Regions from separate parts of the Homo sapiens genome. Here regions 1 and 3 are each linked to region 2. Evidence: promoter capture Hi-C in human tissues and cell types (Jung and others, 2019). All regions are on one chromosome and are shown on one strand. Each heading gives the region's core, a stretch centred on a gene start or on the middle of the fragment in contact. The rest is flanking DNA. Distances are from core to core; before and after follow the strand shown. Region 1 has its middle 13 kb from the start of ZBED6. Region 2 holds the start of PRELP (proline and arginine rich end leucine rich repeat protein). Region 3 has its middle 17 kb from the start of LINC00260.

Region 1 (3,955 bases), core at 706-3,205, 310 kb after region 2:
CTGTAATCCCAGCACTTTGGGAGGCCAAGACGGGCGGATCACGAGGTCAGGAGATTGAGACCATCCCGGCTAACACGGTGAAACCCTGTCTCTACTAAAAATACAAAAAAAAAAAATTAGCCGGGCGTGGTGGCGGGCACCTGTAGTCCCAGCTACTCGGGAGGCTGAGGCAGGAGAATGGCATGAGCCCGGGAGGCGGAGCTTGCAGTGAGCCCGAGATCGCGCCACTGCACTCCAGCCTGGGCTACAGAGCGAGACTCCGTTTCAAACAAAAAAAAGAAAAGAAAAGAAAAAAGAAAGACTACATATAGGGATGTCCAATCTTTTAGCTTCCCTGGGCCACATTGAAAGAAGAATTGACTGGGCGCAGTGGCTCACGCCTGTAATCCCAGCTGTTTGGGAGGCCGAGGCGAGAGGATTACCTGAGGTCAGGAGTTCGAGATCAGCCTGGGCAACACGGTGAAACTTCATCTGTACTACAAATACAGAATTAGCCGGGCGTGGTGACACATGCCTGTAATCCCAGCTACTCGGGAGGCTGAGGTAGGAGAATCGCTTGAACCTGGGAGGCGGAGGATGCGGTGAGCCAAGATCACGCCCTTGAACTCCAGCCTGGGCAACAAGAGTAAATCTCCATCTCACCAAAAAAAAAAAAGAAAGAAGAAGAATTGTCTTGGACTACACATAAAATATGCTAACACCAATGATAGCTGATAAGCTAAAAAACAAAAAACAAAAAACAAAATCTCCAAAAAATCTCATGTTTTAAGAAAGTTTATGAATTTGAATATGTGTTGGGCTATTTTCAAAGCCATCCTGGGCTGCATGGAGCCTGCAGGCTGTGGGTTGAACAAGCTTGGACTAGAAGAAAGGGGAAAGCTTTATATTTTAGCACCTTTAACAGTATGTTTTTTTTTTTTTTTGAGACGGAGTCTCGCTGTGTTGCCCAGGCTGGAGTGCAGTGGCGTGATCTCAGCTCACTGCAAGCTCCGCCTCCCGGGTTCACGCCATTCTTCCGCCTCAGCCTCCCGAGTAGCTGGGACTACAGGTGCCCGCCACCATGCCCGGCTAATTTTTTTGTGTTTTTAGTAGAGATGGGGTTTCACCGTGTTAGCTAGGATGGTCTCAATCTCCTGACCTCGTAATCCGCCCGTCTCTGCCTCCCAAAGTGCTGGGATTATAGGCGTGAGCCACCACGCCCGGCCTGTTTTTTTTTTTGTTTTTTTTTTTTTGAGAGGAGTTTTGCTCTGTCACCGAGACTGGAGTACAATGGCACGATCTCGGCTCACTGCAACCTCTGCCTCCCGGGTTCAAGCTATTCTCCTGCCTCAGCCTCTTGAGTAGCTGGGATTACAGGCATGTGCCACCATGCCCAGCTAATGTTTGTATTTTTAGTAGAGGAGGGGTTTCACCATGTTGGTCAGGCTGGTCTCAAACGCCTGACCTCAGGTGATCTGCCAGCCTTAGCCTCCCACAGTGCTGGGATTACAGGCGTGAGCCACCATGCCCAGCCAACAGTATTTTTTTTCTATTTTGTGAACAAGTGTTTCCACATTTTCATTTTGCACTGGGCCCTACACATTATGTAGCCAGCCCTGGGCCCACGGGCCTGCCCTCCCTGCCCTCATGCTTATGTGCTTATTTGAGTCTCTTCTCAGGAATGTGGACGTCCCACCTCTCTACTCCAACTGAGGAAAACACATCCTTTCTCACAAAAAGAGCTCCTGCTCTCTTTCCTTCACTCTCCCCAGCACGCTGTGCCCCAAGCCGAGATCACACCACTGCACTCCAGCCTGGGCGACAAGAGTGAGACTCCACCTCAAAAAAAAAAAGAGGACTTTGCAGGTATGAGTAAAGGTCTTGAGATGAGGAGACTATCCTGGATATCAGAGTGGGCCCAATGTAATTAGAAGAGGCCTCCCAGGTTCAAGCAATTCTCCTGCCTCAGCCTCCTAAGTAGCTGGGATTACAGATGCATGCCACCATGCCCGGCTAATTTTTGTATTTTTAGTGGAGACAGAGTTTTACCATGTTGGCCAAGCTGGTATCGAGCTCCTGACCTCAGGTGAGCCGCCCGCCTAGGCCTTCCAGAGTGCTGGGATTACAGGCATGAGCCACTGCGCCTGGTCTTACAAAATCCTTTTTACCATGCAAGGTAACACAGTCACAGGTTTCAGGGATTAGGATGTGAACATCTTTGTTGGGGGGCATTATTTTATCTACTACAATGACATAATTTAATATGTCTGATGATAGAAGAACATGATAATATCTGAAGCCCTGTGGTCAGATTCAGAGAAGTAAAAAGATGAGCATACGTAGGCATGCACACAAATCTAGGTTTCTAAAGGAGAAACGAGGGCCGGGGACAGTGGCTCACGCCTGTAATCCCAGAACTTTGGGAGGTCGAGGCGGATGGATCACGAGGTCAGGAGATCGAGACCATCCTGGCAAACACAGTGAAACCCCATCTCTACTAAAAATATAAAAAATTAGTTGGGCATGATGGCACGCACCTGTAGTCCCAGCTACTTGGGAGGCTGAGGCAGGAGAATCGCTTGAACCCAGGAGGCAGAGGTTGCAGTGAGCCTAGATTGCACCACTGCATTCCAGCCTGGGCGACAGAGCCAGACTCCGTCTCAAAAAAAAACAAACAAGAAAAAGAAGAAACGAGGAAGTGGAAAAAAAGGCTGTTGGGCCTGAAACATTTGCTGGTTTCTTGATAAATTAATTTCTTTTTTTCTTTTTTTTTTTTTTGAGACAAGGTCTCGCTCTTGTTGCCCAGTCTGGAGTGCAATGGCACAATCTCAGCTCACTGCAACCTCTGCCTGCCAGGTTCAAGCGATTCTCCCATCTCAGCCTCCCAGGTAGCTGGGATTACAGGCGCCTGCCACCATACCCAGCTAATTTTGTATTTGTAGTAGAGATGGGGTTTCATCATGTTGGCCAGGCTGGTCTCAAACTCCTGGCCTCAAGTGATTTGCCCAAGTCAGCCTTCCAAAGTGCTGGGATGACAGGCATGAGCCACCGCAGATGAACTGATTTATATTATGTATCAGATACGGCATTCATTTAAGGAAGATGTTTCTTCCCTGGAGCTCATAGCAAACATCAAAGCAGAAGCCAGCCACGTAAAGCCATCATTGCTCAGAGAGACACCAGGCAGACACATCAGGGGAGGTCTCTACGTGGCTAAATAAATGCTAGGTCCATAAGTAAGCTGTACTCAGAAGCAGAGAATCTCTGACAAAGTTTGAGTTTGCCGCAGGTGTCCTGGAAAACTGACTCTGTAAGAGGGGGAAGCCCATTCTTGACAATCTCAGGTCAAGACATAATTCTCCAAGTTTCTTGTGGGATTTCACATGAAAAGAATGTGTATTCAACTGCTGTTGAGCAAAATGCTTTGAAAACATCAGTGAACTCAAGCTGGTTGACAGTGTTTGTTGTTCAGGTCATCTATATCTTTACTGATGTTCCATCTACTTGTTCTATCAATTGCTCAGAGAAGAGTGCTGATGGATTCAAATATAATTGTGGATTTCTCTGTTTTTCCTTTCAGTTCTACCTCCGTAAAGCCTTCATGGGTTTTGAAGCTCTATTGTTAGTTGCATGCATATTTAGGATTGCTAATGGCTTCTTGGTGAATTGACTCCTTTGTCATTATTTAATGCCCCTCTTTATTGCTGGTAATATTCCTTGTTCTGAAGTCTATTTATCTGATATTAATATAGCCTCTCCTGCTTGCTTGCTTGCTTGCTTGCTTGCTTTGACTTAGAAAATGTTTCAAAGGGCCAGGCATGGTAGCTTACCCCTGTAATCCCAGCACTTTGGGAGGCCAAAGCAGGTGGATCACTTGAGGCCAGGGGTTTGAGAAAAGCCTGAGCAACATGGTGTAACCCCATCTCTATGAAAAAATACAAAAATTAGCCAGACATGGTGGTGTACACCTGTATGT
Region 2 (4,251 bases), core at 744-3,243:
TTTTTAAATTATTTGTACAAACAGGGTCCCCCCATATGGCCCAGGCTGGTCTCGAACTCCTGGGCTCCATTAATCTTCTGCCTTCGTCTCCCATAGTGCTGGGATTACAGACATGAGTCTCCGTGCCCAGCCAGTCTTTTTTGCCCTCTATCATCTACCACCCACCATACCAAGGGAAACAAGCAAATCTGGCGTCTGATGTTCCCGGCCTGCAGAAGACGCCATATCCCATCTGGATGAGAAATGAAGCACATGAGCAGCCTGGCAGAGCCACAGTTAATGTGAACCTGGAGAGGAACCGTGCTGTCTTCCAGCAAGACCTCACCAGCAGGGCGTGAAGCCATGAGATCTGGGGTGGAAGGGGGTTGGAGAAAGGTCTGGGTTTTATTTTTCCTTCTCCTTTTCTTAGGCTAATTACCATTCATCGCAATCCCTTTCCTAAACCCTAATATCTTCCCAGTTTATAAAGTGCTCTCACATTTACAATATTTAATCTTCCCAACCCTGTGAGGTCAATATTATCCATATTTTGTAAATGAGGAAACTGAAGGTCCTCATGATCAAGTGATTCACCTAAGACCATAGCTTGTGGGTGGCTGAGCCCAGGGCTGCAGACCCTAATTTTAATGTTCTCTCCTCTACCCCATATTGCGGAGGGCAGGCAGGCAGTCCCCTGTCATGGGGCTCTGCAGCTCTCCATGGAACCAATAATGGAGAAGAAAATTGCGTTGCATTTTCTAAGTAGTCAGCTGGGATGGCAGGAATTTATTTATTTTATTTACTTATTTATTTTTTGAGACAGAGTCACGCTCTTGTTGCCCAGGCTGGAGTGCAGTGGCACGATCTTGGCTCACTGCAAGCTTTGCCTCCCAGGTTCAAGCAATTCTCCTGCCTCAGCCTCCCTAGTAGCTGGGACTACAGATGCCCGCCACCACACCCAGCTAATTTTTTTGTATTTTTAGTACAGACAGGGTTTCACCATGTTGGCCAGGTTGGCCTCAAACTCCTGACCTCAGGTGATCCGCCTGCCTCTGCCTCCCACAGTACTGGGATTACAGGCGTGAGCCACTGTGCCTGGCCATGGCAGGAAATTTTGATGGGCATCTACTTACCTGCAAGTGTGTTGTGCTTTCTTAATTGAGGGGCATTGTTAGAGGATTGTTAGAGGTAGTGGTGTTACTTGACTGGGTCTTCTGGGGTGTTGATGTGCACAGGGGAAATTTGGATTTCCCATCACTTTGTGTGATGACCACACAGCCCCTAAATCTCACCTAAGTGTGATATGGAGAAGCTGAAAGAAGCCACTACATTGTCCACATGAGCTAGGAACAGTGACTTTAGGTCTTACATTAAATCTTAATTCTGCCTTAACTTTGCTGTGCAACTCAGGCCAGACTTCTCCCTCTCTGGTTCTCAGAACAGCCCTGGCAGCCAAACCGAAGTTATCTCCTATGCCAGCCTGAGACTCCACTCCCTTTGCAACCTCCTGGAGAAGATAACTTAGGGAAAGACTGTCACTGCTCAGAGGAAGCATCCCAAACCCCTCACTGGTTTAGGAATTTAACACTACCGAGCAACGGCCCCAGAAGGCAAGGCGATTGTTAGGAGGAATTAAACAGGCTAGTGCTGGACCCAGCCATCCAGTCCTGGCTTACACAGAGGTTGCTTTTCATGCCTTTTCACTCTGTTAATTTGGCTTGTTTTCCAAACATGGGTCAAACAACCCCTCTCCAGAAGCGGCAGCAGCAGAAGGAAATGTTATTAAAAATGAGTCTGTTAGTGGGAATGGTGTGTGGATGAAGTCTTTGGGAGTTTTGGCTGCCAAATAAAGACTTTATTGTCATTCCTCCTTTCCCAAGCTCCCTCCCTCTCTCCTCCCCTCCCCTCCCTCCCTCCTCCCTCCTCTCCTCCCCTCCCTCCCTATGATCTGCCCCTCCCTCCCCCCAAGCTAACCTCCCCACCCCAATAGGATCTGGTGGAAGAAAAGTCAGGCAAACACAAGCACGCACACACCACTGGGAGATCAGATCTTCTAGCTGGCTCTCTGCTGCCACAGCTCCGCCGAAGGGAGGGGGTGGAAGAGGAGGACTAAACTCAGAGCTGAGAGGAGAGGCAGGTGTGTGCAGGTAAGCCCAGTTGGGAGATGGGCAGGAGACTGGGAAGAATCTTTCATCCAGTAAGTTTCCTCCAGCTCTGTCCATTTATTGATCTAGTCTCTATCCTCTCACTCCTTCCTTCCTCCCACCTCTTTCTCCTCTCAAATGAGTTCAAATTTAGTCTTCCTAACTTCTTTCCTATAGCCTCTTCCTTTTCTTTTCATCACTCTGTACCCCTATATTTGCTTACTGCAAAAGTTAAGCTTTCCTGCTGCAGATGTTTGTTGTAGCACAGAGAGCCACGCTGCACAAAGTGTTTCTACAGATCAGGTGTTTCCATAGAAACTGGACTCCAGAACCCATTTCTTTGCACCTTTTGTGTATTGTCACACATTGTGGAAGTCACACACATCACACGGAGGCTGCACGTTCACTACCATCACCCCACACGACCATACAAAATGAAGACATCCTGTCCATTCACCTCTGCCCTCTGCATCTGACATGCAGAGCTAGACCACATCATCACCAGACACCAGCAGACACACACACACATGCATGCACACATGTTCCCTGCATCTTGTCTCTCGCCCTCTCACACACACCTCCCTAGCTGTAAGAGCAAAGATAAAGTACGTTTTCCCACTGAGATGGCAGAGCCAGAAGAAAATCTTGCATCCCAAGTCCAGGCCGAATAGGGAGGAGATAAGCAAGAGCGGGAGCTGGAAGGGTTTCTTCATTATTTAGGGCTTCACTGGGTAGGAGGGAGAGAAAAACGGCTTTTTCCAACCTGCACAGTGTCTTCTCAGCAGCTTTCAATTTCTGTCTCACTGGTCCAAACCACTTGGCTTTTGGAAAGAAAGAAGAAAGCGACCCAGTTCCCAATCCTTGAAGGTCCTAATTCCCAGCTCTGGGGACAGTTCATTTTTTTATTTTTTTTTCCTGCAGGCAGCCAGAAAAATATTTTTCTTTAAAGCCGTTCTGAAATTATTCCAACCATTTAGGTTGGCAAAAGGTCCTGTGGCAGAGGAGAAAAAAAAAAAAAGGCAGCAGTTCCTTAAGCAGTTGGGGAGGGGAAAACTGAAGGGCGGCCCCTCTCCTGCTCCCCTGCTCATTCCTCTCTATTAATAGAGAGGGTCTGTCCCAAGGCAGGCGGGGTGTAGGGAGATCAGGGGTCCCACACACAGCTGATCTTCACAGTCACCTAAGGGCTGGAGAGGGAGGAGTGTGGAGGGCTTACTAAAAATACAGATGTCGGCTCTCACTGCAGATCTACTGAATCGAGACCCAGGAATCTTGTTTTAATACTTCAGGAGATTCTGATGGTCCACCAGGGCTCGAGAATCAGGGGCCTGAGAGAGAGCTTTGCTGTAATTTTTAAGCCCAAGACTCCGGCAGTGTTAGCTGGGCAGAAGGACTGTGTCCTGGAAAAGGAGCACCAGAGTGTCCCAAATAGGCCACCTCTTTTTTGGGGAGTGGGAGTAAACAGGGAAGAGCTGTCTCCCTCTCTCCTCCTTGCAAGCACAAGCAGCCATATATACCACAGAGGAACATTCCAGTAAGAAAGTTCCCCCAAGATGGCTCCACAGAGCTTCTGTTTCCCCTCACCTGTTAATCTGCCTGCCCCAGGACCCCAGGAGCATGTGCTGGGCCCTTCCCCTGACCCTTATAGGTCCCTGCTCCTCCTTCCCAGCAGCCACCTGTCTGGGCTCTCACAGAGGGTGAGCTGAACACTTTCTTCATGCCCCCTCCACCTCCCTAGTGGGCAATCCCATTTATTGGGCATGTGAGTGAAGCATTTCAAGGCTGGAAGGGGCAAAAAGCTGGGAGAAGTCAAGAATCGCAGTGGAACTCCATGGCCCACTGAGGAAGGCAGACTTGCACCTTCTGTGGCCAGTGTCCCCTCACCTGTTGCAGAAAGCATCGGTGAGAAGTTGGTGAATTAGAAAGACAGAACAAGCTTTCCCTAGGTGGCTGGGGACTTCCAGAGTCTCCTCAGTTAGTTGTTTCTGAGACCCAAGTGTGATCTCACAAGCCACAAAGGGGAGGAAGTTGCTCTGTGTGGAAGAGCTGGTACCCCACTCACAAGGATCCCTGCCTTCGAGCAGTGCATGGGGGCTGCCCTCTAGCCAGGCTGGAGGGAAGGAGACCCCAT
Region 3 (3,878 bases), core at 845-3,344, 270 kb after region 2:
GAGAAACCCTGTCTCTACAAAAAATAAATTCAGCCAAGCGCAGTGGCTCATGCCTGTAACCCCAGCACTTTGGGGGGCCAAGGTGGGCGGATCATGAGGTCAGGAAATTGAGACCATCCTGACTAACACAGTGAAACCCCATCTCTACTAAAAAATACAAAAAACTAGCCGGGCGTGGTGGCAGGTGCCTGTAGTCCCAGCTACTCGGGAGGCTGAGGCAAGAGAATGGCGTGAACCTGGGAGGCGGAGCTTGCTGTGAGCCGAGATCATGCCACTGCACTCCAGCCTGGACAACAGAGCAAGACTCCGTCTCAAAAAAAACAAAACAAACAAACAAAAATACAAAAATCAGCCGGGCGTGGTGGTGCATGCCTGTTATCCCAACTATTCAGGAGGCTGAGGCAGGAGAATCACTTGAACCTGGGAGGTAGAGGTTGTGGTGAACCGAAGTCACACCATTGCACTCCAGCCTAGGCAACAAGAGTGAAACTCCATCTCAGAAAAGAAAAGAAAAAGACTTAAATGATCTGAGATCTTATCCCCACTTTTCTTTTCTGTCCTAGGTTGCTCTCCACAGGCATTGAACACATTGCCCACTTAGTTTCTTTAAAATAGGGGATGGAGAATAAATAATGAACTTAACAAACAAAAATGAAAATAGGCTGGGCACAGTGGCTCACGCCTGTAATCTCAGCACTTTGGGAGGCCGAGGTGGGTGGATCACAAACTCAAGAGATCGAGACCATCCTGGCCAACATGGTGAAACCCCATCTCTACTAAAAATACAAAAATTATCTGGGCATGGTGCCATGCGCCTGTAGTCCCAGCTACTCGGGAGGCTGAGGAAGGAGAATTGCTTGAACCCAGGAGGCAGAGATTACAGTGAGCCGAGATCGCGCCATTGCACTCCAGCCTTGCAACAGAGCAAGACTCCGTCTCAAAAAAAAAAGAAAGAAAAGAAAGTCTGCTTTTTCCATTGTAGTTTCCCTCCTAAATACTCTTGCTGAAAAGGATGTAACACATATGAACCCCTATACGGTCCTTTCTAAAGCTTGGCCCTCTATTTCTTCTCTCACCCCCACTTTGTGTTTGTTGGACCATAGATCTGTGCCTCTCTGCCATGCCAAACAGAGGATCTTAAGGATCCACGTCTCTTAACCCCAGGATATGGTAAGGAATGGTGAAGAATGAACCTCCTACGTATCATTCTGGCAGAGACCACTATATCCTAAGGTGTTGGCTCAAGAGAATGTAAAGGCCAGCTCAGCAACTTGGACCTAGGTCACTGTATGGAAAAGAGCATACTCTGTTCTTCCATTCTTTTCCCTTACCCCAGTTCTAGAAAAGAATAATAGCTTTGCCTTCCATCTTTTCTTTTTCTTTTTTTTTTTTGAGATGGAGTTTCACTCTTGTTGCCCAAGTGGGAGTGCAATGGTGTGATCTCGGCTCACTACAACCTCTGCCTCCAGGGTTCAAGCAGTTCTCCTGCTTCAGCCTCACGAGTAGCTGGGATTACAGGCGTGCGCCACCATGCCCGGCTAATTTTTTGTATTTTTAGAAGAAACGGGGTTTCACCATGTTAGCCAGGCTGGTCTCGAACTCCTGACCTCAGGTGATCCGCCTGCCTTGGCCCCCGCAAAGTGCTGGGATTACAGGCATAAGCCACCACGCCCAGCCTGCCCTCCATCTTCAGTAATGGTTTGTGAGTCTCCCCTTTCTCCACTAGTCCATATCGTCTCCCTGCGGTCATCAGTTTGAAGCTCTCTACCAAGCCCACCTGGTTCCCCCAAAGTATACACATGACCAGGCAACTCCCTGACCTACTCTGTGGTGAATCCAAAGAAGATGACTCCTTGGGTTCCAGTGAGATATTTACCAGCCCCTGACCTGGGTTTGTTAAAGCGTGGCCTTCTTGTCACTACAAGCAGGAAGGAGAATGAGAATGGCATGTCCTTCACCAACAAATAATTGTGAAGCTTTGTTGTAAATAATACATGTAAACATGTTACCATTTCTGTGCAGGATCATTAACATCCAGTTACCTCCACCATGAACCTAAGCCATGAGAGGTACTGACCTATTAGATTCATAGACAGAAAGCTTTCAGCTTGAAAGGTAGCAGCTTCTGGGTTCTGGGCTTGCCTATGTCCTGATGTACAACCAATCATAAACAAGTCTTTACTTCTCTGACTCTTTTCAAATAATACTTTCCTGGCCCAGCATCATCTCCCTGTCCTCAGAAGACATGCACAAAACAGAGATCAGTCTCTTTAGAATGGCCTCCCGCTGCCTTCTAAAAGGCTGGTGGCAAAACAAGAATGCTAGCTCGGAAGGCAGTGGTTCATGCCTGTAATCCCAGCACTTTGGGAGGCTGAGGTGGGCGGATCACCTGAGGTCAGAAGTTCAAGACCAGTCTGGCCAACATGGTGAAACCCTGTCTCTACTAAAAATACAAAAATTAGCTGAGCGTGGTGGTGTGCACCTGTAATACCAGCTACCCGGGAGGCTGAAGCAGAAGAATCCCTTGAACCCAGGAGGCGGAGGTTGTAGTGAGCCAAGATCACGCCACTGCACTCCAGCCTTCCAACATAGGTGACAGAGCAAGGCTCCATCTCAAAAAAAAAAAAAAAAAAGAATTGAAATAATCTACATATTTGGATAGCCAGATTACAATCAGAAATTTAACTTCTGCTCATGAACTCTACGCAAAGGGGAAATAATAGAACTGTCTGAGTGGCTAGTGCCATTACACTCACAGGGCATATATCTGTCCCTACTCCTTTTTTTGTTTTTGAGACAGGGTCTTGCTCTGTCACCCAGGCTGGAGAGCAGTGGCATGACCAAGGCTTACTGCAGCCTTAGACTCGGCTCAAGTTATCCTTCCATCTTAGCCTTCCAAGTAGCTGAGACTACAGGCATGCACCACCATGCCTGTAATTTTTTTTAAGAGATGGAGTCTTACTATGTTGTTCAAGCTGGAGTCAATCACCTGGCCCCAAACTATCCTCCCACCTCAGCCTCCCAAATGTTGGGATTACAGGCATGAGCCACCATGCCTGGCCTGTCTCTACTTTAGAATAGAACTGGGCCCTGTGTTCAAGCTTAAGCATCACTTGATTTCTCTGGTGTCTCCTATAACAGAGGACATATAGACCATCTCCTTTTAGCACATTCTTTTTCCAAACACAGCACAATTGATTTAAGCTTTCTTGCTATGCTAGACCCAGGAAGACTGCATTGAAAGACTGATTTGTGTTTTATAACTCCAGATCTTCATGTCTTCACCTATTTAAAGCAAGTATATATGATAACTCATTTGAAAGAGGGAGTAAGGCTGGGAAGAGCTGGACTGGTACCTACAGATTGCCTTTAACCATGCTTAAGAGAAGAACAAATATATCCATGATCATCCAAAACCCTTTATTTAAGTCAAGAATTCCTGCATCTGACCAGCCTGGCCAACATGGTGAAACCTCATCTCTACTAAACTTACAAAAATTAGCTGGGCATGGTGGCTCATGCCTGTAATCCCAGCTTCTCTGAAGGCTGAGGTGAGAGGATCACTTGAACCCAGGAGGCGGAGGTTGCAGTGAGCTGAGATTGCACAACTGCACTCCAGCCTGGGTTACAAAGATAGATCCTGTCTCAATAAATAAATAAATAAATAAATAATAAAAATAAAAATAAAAAATTCCTGCTGGGCGCAGTGGCTCATGCCTGTAATCCCAGCACTTTGGGAGGCCAAGGCAGGCAGATTGCCTGAGCTCAGGAGTTCAAAACCAGCCTGGGCAACATGGCAATACCCTGTATCTACTAAAAATACAAAAACTTAGCCAGTCGTGGTGACAGGCACCTGTAATCCCAACTACTCAGGAGGC

The links. Contacts are between HindIII fragments. The study calls those that stand out against the background at their distance.
Region 1: a contact is called between a fragment that was not itself captured here and the fragment with the promoter of PRELP in region 2, in 2 of the 25 tissues and cell types used here (mesendoderm cells and thymus).
Region 3: a fragment that was not itself captured here is called in contact with the fragment with the promoter of PRELP in region 2 in 6 of the 25 tissues and cell types used here (H1 embryonic stem cells, adrenal gland, dorsolateral prefrontal cortex and 3 more).

The regions. Positions count from the first base shown.
Region 1 is chr1:203,780,553-203,784,507 of GRCh38, forward strand. No RefSeq gene overlaps it. Among named protein-coding and RNA genes, the nearest start is that of ZBED6, 13 kb to the right of the region's middle. The HindIII fragment of the contact is 6,600 bases long and covers 1-3,955 here.
Region 2 is chr1:203,473,813-203,478,063 of GRCh38, forward strand. PRELP (proline and arginine rich end leucine rich repeat protein) reads left to right here and starts at 1,994. Exons shown (of 3, transcript NM_002725.4): 1 at 1,994-2,126. The HindIII fragment of the contact is 3,589 bases long and covers 1-3,207 here.
Region 3 is chr1:203,745,388-203,749,265 of GRCh38, forward strand. No RefSeq gene overlaps it. Among named protein-coding and RNA genes, the nearest start is that of LINC00260, 17 kb to the left of the region's middle. The HindIII fragment of the contact is 4,510 bases long and covers 1-3,878 here.